Linked DNA regions of Homo sapiens: regions 1 and 2 are each linked to region 3. The links are contacts of gene promoters, found by promoter capture Hi-C in blood cells and fetal thymus (Javierre and others, 2016). All regions are on one chromosome and are shown on one strand. Each heading gives the region's core, a stretch centred on a gene start or on the middle of the fragment in contact. The rest is flanking DNA. Distances are from core to core; before and after follow the strand shown. Region 1 has its middle 18 kb from the start of ZNF792. Region 2 holds the start of ZNF792 (zinc finger protein 792). Region 3 holds the start of DMKN (dermokine).

Region 1 (2,700 bases), core at 11-2,510, 530 kb after region 3:
GGAGTCTCTCTGTGACGCCCAGGCTGGAGTGCAGTGGCTCAATCTCGGCTCACTGCAAGCTCCGCCTCCCGGGTTCACGCCATTCTCCTGCCTCAGCCTTCCGAGTAGCTGGGACCACAGGTGCCCACCACCACGCCTGGCTAATTTTTTGTATTTTTAGTAGAGAAGGGGTTTCACCGCGTTAGCCAGGATGGTCTCGATCTCCTGACCTTGTGATCCGCCCGCCTCGGCCTCCCAAAGTGCTGGGATTACAGGCATGAGCCACCGTGCCCAGCCGCTGAGAATTTGTCTCTAAAAAACAATGACAAACTAAAAGGAAAACTTCTGGAAAGCAGAATAAAAGACAAAAGTGGATAATAAGAGACAATATAAGAAAATTAGAGGATAAATTCAGAAATTCCAAAAAAGAGAAAACAGAAACTCCAGTAGTGAAGAAAGTATTAAAGAAATGTCCCCATAACTGAAAGAAATTTGAAGAGCCTGCAGAGTGCTCCACAATTGTTAAAATATGGTAATAATATTTCAGAACATCAGTTCTAGAGGTTTCCAGAGAGAGAAAAAAAAAAAGCCAAACAGATCACAGTCAAAGGATCACAGGTGGGAGGACATTGGACACTCTGGGGAAAAACTGCTGTTTAACCTGGACTTCTATCAAATTATCACTCAAGTGGAAACAGGGTTAGACATTTTCAGACAAACAAAGTCTCAAAAAGTTTCCTCCCAAACAGTCTTTCTCAGGAAGCTCCTGGAAGATATTTTCACCCTAAACAAGGGAGTAAACCAGGAAAGAGAAAATGGAGGACCAACATGACTAGATGGTGAAGTGAAGTCCCAGCAGGAGAATCATGCAGCTGGCTTGAAGAAAGTATAGATTGGAGCAGAAGGACAGAGATTGGAGTTTAAATTATTCAAAGCAGAGAAAAGGACAAATCTCAACTACAGTTGTAAAGAAAAGCAAAAAGTTTGCATGAGAAAGAAATGTAAGGACAGCGCACGACATAGCTCATCTCTAACATTTTCCTGATCTCCATAACATAATCAGTGAACTTAATAAAAATCATGACATGACAATTCTGGGAGGATTGAAGGGGGGGGAAGGAAATATGTGTGTGGGAGAGGAGTGAAAAGAGCGAATTCATCATCTTCTAGTAAAAAGTAAGTTGATAATATATAACATTCAAATTCAAGACTGTATATAAACCTGCTATTTATAAACGTGGAGCCGGGCACAGTGGCTCATGCCTGCAATTCCAGCACTTTGGGAGGCTGAGATGGGCGGATCACTTGAGGTCAGGAGTTCGAGACCAGCCTGGCCAACACGGTGAAACCCTGTCTCTACTAAAAATACAAAAATTAGCCTGGTGTGGCGGTGCATGCCTGTAATCCCAGTTACTTGAGAGGCTGAGGCTGGAGAATTGCTTGAACCCGGGCGGCAGAGGTTGCAGTGAGCGGAGATGGCACTGCTGCACTACAGCCTGGGCAACAGAGTGAAATTCCAACTCAAAAAAAAAAAAAAAAGGAGATGAAAATAGAACTATGCACTAAAAGAGAGAGTGGCTAATTCTGGAGAGGGGGATGGGGTGGGACGGCATGGAGTAGAGAAGAGAGCTGCTGGGTTTAGAAATCTTGTTGAATTCTTTGACTTTTGCTATTGTGCATTTATATGACTGATTAGAATTAAAATTTTAAAAGTTTGCAACTGGTAGAGCCAAGAATTTTGAGTTTAAGAATCCCAAACTGATGGAAATACTTATAATACACACAAAAATTTTTGTTTACGGATGGCCTAGGCAGTATAGTTTGCAATGAGGACAAAGAAAAAAAATGCGTTGTGTTTGATATTTACAGGATATTATTAATGGGACATTATAATTAATTGTTTTATTTTCCCCACTGCTGACATGCCTGTGTGAATTTGCTAAGCTAGTGGTTTGATGACTTATTTGTAATGCACTTTTAGAGCATCGTAAACACCTAATAAACACATGTGGAATACAGGTGTTTCAAAACGATAAGTAACAAAAAAGAGACACATTTTATTGTATATAAACTATCCTTCAATAATACTGATTAAAATGCAAAAGAGATATTAGAATATGCAAATTATTCAGCAACATAAAGCAATAATAGAAGAGCCAAAAGACGAAAATGATTGATTATGGGATGTGGATGCAAGGTAGAGGACAGTTATTTATTTATATGTCTTTTATTGTTTGTTTGTTTATTTATTTATTTTTTGTGACAGGGTCTTGCTCTGTCACCCAGGCTGGAGTGCAATGATGCCATCCCAGCTCACTGCAGCCTTGGTCTTCCATGCCCAAGCCATCCTCCCACCCCAGCCTCTTGAGTAGCTGGGACTACAGGCACATGCCACCATGCCTGGCTAATTTTTGTATTGTTTGTAGGCATGGAGTCTCACCATCTTGCCCAGGCTGGTCTCAAAACCCTGGGTTCATTCCGTCTGCCTGCCGGTCTCCCAAAGTGCTGGAATTACAGATGGGAGCCACTGGACCCAGCCATGTCTTTTAATGCTGCATGATATTTAAATGTTAAATATGTATATTTTAGCACTACTTCATATATACTCATTACATAAGGTAAGTACAGTTATAAAGTAAATAAAGGCTGGGCGCAGTGGCTCATGCTGTAATCCTAGCACTTTGGGAGGCTGGTCAGGAGATCAAGACCAGCCTGGCCAAC
Region 2 (2,700 bases), core at 44-2,543, 550 kb after region 3:
TGGGGAAAGAATTCAGCGATATTTCTCTTACCCGTTTTTGGTAATAGGAGAAATATGGCTCTGTCCTGCCCGTCCCACAGGCAGCCAGACTTTAAGGTTATCTCCCTTGTTCCCTGAAAATCGCTGTTATCCTGTTCTTAAGGTGCCCAGATTTCATATTGTTCAAACACACATGCCCTACAAACAATCTGTGCAGTTAACGCAATCATCACAGGGTCCTGAGATGACATACATCCTCAGCTTACGAAGATGACAGGATTAAGAGATTAAAGTAAAGTCAGGCATAGGAAATCACAAGAGTATTGATTGGGGAAGCGATACATGTCCATGAAATCTTCACAATTTATGTTCAGAGATTGCAGTAAAGACAGGCATAAGAAATTATAAAAGTATTAATTTGGGGAACTAATAAATGTCCATGAAATCTTCACAATTAATGTTCTTCTGTCACGGCTTCAGCAGGTCCCTCCGTTCGGGGTCCCTGACTTCCTGCAACAATGTAGTGTTATTTTTCCCATTTTATTTACTGGATTTCAATGAGAGTCCCTGCTGTAAAGTTGGAGCCAGCATTGGAGTCCCCAGAGGGCTTGTTAAAACAGAGAAGGAGGCCTGGCACCATGGCTCACTCCTGCAATTCCCAACACTTTGGGAGGCCGAGGTGAGAGGATCACTTGAGCTCAGGAGTTTGAGACCAGCCTAGGCATCACAGGGAGATCCAGTCTCTACAAAAAATTTTAAAATTAGCTGTGTATGATGGTGCACGCCTGTATCCCATCTACCTGGTAGGCTGAGGCAGGAGGATAGCTTGAGCCCGAGATGGAGGCTGCAGTGAGCTATGATCAGGCCACTGCACTCCAGCCTGGACAACAGAACGAGACCCATCCCCCCCGCCCCCCCCGCAAAAAGTAGAGAAGGCTGAATCCCATCCCCAGAATTTCTGAGTCCTTAGATTTAAGTTGTTGCCCCAGAACCTGCATTTTCAGCCAGTCCCCAGGTGATGCTGATGTTGCTGGTTTGAGAAGCCCTGAATCAGAGCGACATTTAATATTACAACGCAAAGACCCCGCCCATTGGGTACTATCCCCATTTTCCAGTGTGAATTTAGGTCCCTTAGGGGTGAAGCGGCTGGCCGATGCCCACACGCGCAGGAAGAGCACTGGGGCTCTCCTCCTGGACCTCGGAGGGTGGGCGGGGTTTAGCGCGGGCGGCTGCAGGCTCGGGAGCGGCCCCTTTAAGGGGAAGGCCCGAGGGCTGCAGGCGGCGGCGGTGGAGACCCGACGAGATCCGCTCTCCTTCCCGCCCTGGACCCTCAGCCTGACGAGAGGCTGGGCAGAAACTCGCGATCCCCAGGCCCTGCCTGTGCACCAGCGGCTGGCGCCAGGCCAATGACAGTACGGGAGAGGGCAACTCTCCCGGCCGCCACGGTGGGGGCCGGAACTTCCTGCACTGCAGCCTCGCAGGTCATTTCCCGGCGGGGAGGCTGAGTCCCCAGGAGCTGGGGACCCCGAGTTGGGGGCGGGGCGGCTGGGGCTACGCCCGTGAAGCTGCCCCGCCGGCTTTCCCGGACCGCGAGGGGGACAGTGAGGCCGGGACCCCCTCCGCGCCTTTGCACCAGCCGTGACCCCTTGCAACGGGGGTACCCAGCGGAGCTGCGCGCTCTCGGCGCCCCCGGAGCCTGCGCCCCGGGCCCCTTGCGCATTTTGCACGGGGGAGACTGAGGCTAGGAGTGCGACCCTCAGCCCGGGGTCACACCTCGTCTGGGGCACGGCCAGGTGGGTGGTAGCCTCAGCCTGCGAGACCCCCTACCCCCGCCCCGTGGTTTCCCGCACCGTGGGGCCCTGCTCTGACCACAGACTCCGATGGCAGCGGCGGCGCTGCGGGACCCCGCGCAGGTGAGTGCTTGGACGTTAGGCCCTTCGCTGTCGGCCCCCCACGCTTCTGTTCTCGGTGTTGAGACGCAAAAGATGGCTTTGTTCTAGGACTTTTCGCCTTTCCCATTTCCTTGCTTTTGAGTCAGGGGACCCTGGAAGGGAGTTGCTCCCAGCTAGGATCCTGAATCAGGGCAGGGTTTATATAAAGTGGCTTCCGTTGCTGAAATGTAATGGGATGGAGGGAGAAAGGGCTTTGTAGGCACAGGAACCAGCGTGCGCAAAAGCTTGGGGGTGGGGTGGGGCACGGTGTGGAGACTGAGTTGGGAGTGTTCAAGGAACCCCACCCAGGTCAGTGTTATTAATATTATGTCTGCTGGAACCAGAGAGCAGGTGGGCTGAAGACAGCTCAGAACGGCAGAGCTGGGCCTCTGTTCTGAGGGTGTTGGGAGCCATGGAAGGTTTAGGGCAGAGGAGGAAGATGCTGTGACTCAGGTCTTAACAGGCTCCCTGTGGATGCACAGTGGAGAACTGAATATGGAGTGAGCCGCAAGCAGGGATGCCAAGGAGTAGCCTAATGGAATAGCCCAGGCCAGTGCTGCGGCTGGCCGGACCAGAGTGAGGACTGGAGGTAGAGGAAGTGATTGGGAACTTGATGTCTTTTAAGTCAAGCTGACCAAATTTTCCGATGTGGAGGGTGAGAAAGAGGAGGGAAGAATCCATGGTTTTTGGTTTGATGAATCCAGCTTTATGAACTGAGAAGTTGGTTTTAGGAGGAATTTTCCATGGAAGCAGTAGAAGTTAGGTTTTGGCCAAGTTGAGCCTGTGATGT
Region 3 (2,700 bases), core at 174-2,673:
CATCTCCCAGAGTTGTATAATTCTTAAACTGCTTGTGCTTAGTCCAATGCTGGGTACATACAGAACCGCTGATAAGCTGGAGCTGTAATTATTATTATTATTATTATTATTATTACCACCATCGCTATTATCATCATTAACGAGTCAGAGATGGAATAACAGGGAAGTAGGAGCTGAGGAGGACAGATGGGGATAGTGTTTACAAGGTAAGAAGTGTTGGATGTTATAAGCTGGGGTGCGGATATTGGGGTGGAGAGAAGAGAGAGACTGACTGAGAGACATTGAGAAAGGCTGATGGAAACTGGCCCCTCCTAACTGGGCGATGAACCCCAGTGATACGAAACAGTGGGAGGCCCTGTGGCCCCTGGGAATAGAGAAGCAGCCACACTTGCTGGGCAGGGGTGAGGCGGGGGGAGGCTCCCAGGTTCTGTATCCCGAGCTGGGACTGGGGAGAGGGCCGTGGCTCTCACGGATGGCTCCTGACCTTGCGCTACCCTCTTCTCGCTTGCCATTGCTGCCCTGGCCCCTGGCCTGGGGGATGGGTGGGGTGAGCTGGCCCAGTCCCGCCCCTCATAGGCGCTTATACTCACACGTGCCCCTCTAGGGCTGCGTAAACAGGATGGGTGCCTGGGTCAGCGGCTCCCTCCCTTGGCCTTCCCTCCCACTCGTTCCCTGGGGGTGGCTGGCGCGCCTGGCTGCCCTGCTCCGCGCCCAGCTTTCTCAGCCGGGAGCAGCCTGAACGCTGAGACACCCTGCTGACCACTCAAAGGGCTATGGCCACCTCCTTCCCCGACACCGAGGGTCCCCCCGGGGGCTCTCCCCAGAATCTCAGAAACTGACACGCAGCCCCGTGTTTGCCAGTCTCTCTCTGTGGGCTGGAAGGTGTGGAGGAACAAGAAGGCAGTCACCTGTAGGTGGCAATGCGGGAGGGGAGAGGGAGAGGAGAGGCTGAGGTGCTGAAACCGAGAAAGGCCAGGCCGAGGACGGGCAATGCCTGTCACTCTGGAGCCCCTGAGCCAGGCTGGCTGAGCCTGGGTGGGTCCTGTCCCCTGGGGCTTCCCTGTCCTTACTCCTTTGGTGGGGTCCTGCCAGTAACTCCTCTCTTCTAAGTCTGCCCCCACCCCACCGCCTCCAGGAGCCAACGACAACCTGTCTCCTTAGATGCCCCTGCCCCCACCCAGCTCCCCGAATGCCTGGGGTTGGGAAATGGGAGCACTTTTGCATCACCTCATCCATTTCTCCCTCCCTCCCTGATGCGGCTCACTCTCTGTTTCGACAGAGACTCTCAGACTCACAATAACAGCTGATTACCCTATTGGTGGCTGGGCCCTGAGTCACTGCGGGGAGGGACCTCAGGTTGCCCAGCCCTGTCACCTTCTCCCAACCTAGAGTATAAGGAGTAGTGACAGGGAGGTGGACTCTGAGAAGCCCAGGCAGTTGAGGACAGGAGAGAGAAGGCTGCAGACCCAGAGGGAGGGAGGACAGGGAGTCGGAAGGAGGAGGACAGAGGAGGGCACAGAGACGCAGAGCAAGGGCGGCAAGGAGGAGACCCTGGTGGGAGGAAGACACTCTGGAGAGAGAGGGGGCTGGGCAGAGATGAAGTTCCAGGGGCCCCTGGCCTGCCTCCTGCTGGCCCTCTGCCTGGGCAGTGGGGAGGCTGGCCCCCTGCAGAGCGGAGAGGAAAGCACTGGGACAAATATTGGGGAGGCCCTTGGACATGGCCTGGGAGACGCCCTGAGCGAAGGGGTGGGAAAGGCCATTGGCAAAGAGGCCGGAGGGGCAGCTGGCTCTAAAGTCAGTGAGGCCCTTGGCCAAGGGACCAGAGAAGCAGTTGGCACTGGAGTCAGGCAGGTTCCAGGCTTTGGCGTAGCAGATGCTTTGGGCAACAGGGTCGGGGAAGCAGCCCATGCTCTGGGAAACACTGGGCACGAGATTGGCAGACAGGCAGAAGATGTCATTCGACACGGAGCAGATGCTGTCCGCGGCTCCTGGCAGGGGGTGCCTGGCCACAATGGTGCTTGGGTGAGTGGCTGTGGGGCTGCATGTGGAAATGGGAGGCTGTGGGCTGCTGGGCTGAGATTCTTGGGAAACGGTTGAAAGGATGGATGGATCTCTTACTTGCAGGCTTCTGGGGCAGCTTCCTTCTATGTTCTGCCCCCCTCCTATGCCACCCTGGAGTCCCTCTGCCTGTCTCTCTCCTGGTCTCTTTATGATTTGCCCTGGCTCTTCTCTACCAGGGTCAGAGATGGTCCCACTAAGTGCAGGTATGTTGTTCTTGCAGGAAACTTCTGGAGGCCATGGCATCTTTGGCTCTCAAGGTGGCCTTGGAGGCCAGGGCCAGGGCAATCCTGGAGGTCTGGGGACTCCGTGGGTCCACGGATACCCCGGAAACTCAGCAGGCAGCTTTGGAATGAATCCTCAGGGAGCTCCCTGGGGTCAAGGAGGCAATGGAGGGCCACCAAACTTTGGGACCAACACTCAGGTAAAGTCACCCCCAGACCTGCTACCTGCCACCTCCCTCCCTCCAAGCCCACATGCTCCGCGTGCCTCCCTGGTCCCTCTGGATCCTACTCTCAGTCTCACCCTCTCTGCAGGGAGCTGTGGCCCAGCCTGGCTATGGTTCAGTGAGAGCCAGCAACCAGAATGAAGGGGTAAGAGGAAGGGGCTGGGAACAAATGAAGAAGCCACTGGGTGCAGGCT

What was found. The method cuts DNA at HindIII sites, captures the fragments that hold promoters and counts their contacts. A CHiCAGO score of 5 or more calls a contact.
Region 1: a fragment that was not itself captured here is called in contact with the fragment with the promoter of DMKN in region 3 in 1 of 17 cell types (total B cells); the score reaches 5.8 in total B cells.
Region 2: a contact is called between the fragment with the promoter of ZNF792 here and the fragment with the promoter of DMKN in region 3, in 3 of 17 cell types (naive B cells, naive CD4 T cells and total CD4 T cells). The highest score is 6.1, in naive B cells.

Annotation. Positions count from the first base shown.
Region 1 is chr19:34,980,845-34,983,544 of GRCh38, reverse strand. No RefSeq gene overlaps it. Among named protein-coding and RNA genes, the nearest start is that of ZNF792, 18 kb to the right of the region's middle. The HindIII fragment of the contact is 6,510 bases long and covers 1-2,700 here.
Region 2 is chr19:34,962,822-34,965,521 of GRCh38, reverse strand. It overlaps ZNF792 (zinc finger protein 792), which reads left to right and starts at 1,293. Exons shown (of 4, transcript NM_175872.5): 1 at 1,293-1,892. The coding sequence starts at 1,860. It overlaps LOC124904699 (a long non-coding RNA gene), which reads right to left and starts at 2,096. Exons shown (of 2, transcript XR_007067236.1): 1 at 1,849-2,096. RefSeq lists silencers at 1,532-1,791, 1,902-1,951. The HindIII fragment of the contact is 6,406 bases long and covers 1-2,157 here.
Region 3 is chr19:35,512,372-35,515,071 of GRCh38, reverse strand. DMKN (dermokine) reads left to right here and starts at 1,423. Exons shown (of 16, transcript NM_033317.5): 1 at 1,423-2,022; 2 at 2,282-2,482; 3 at 2,595-2,651. The coding sequence starts at 1,597. The HindIII fragment of the contact is 13,607 bases long and covers 1-2,700 here.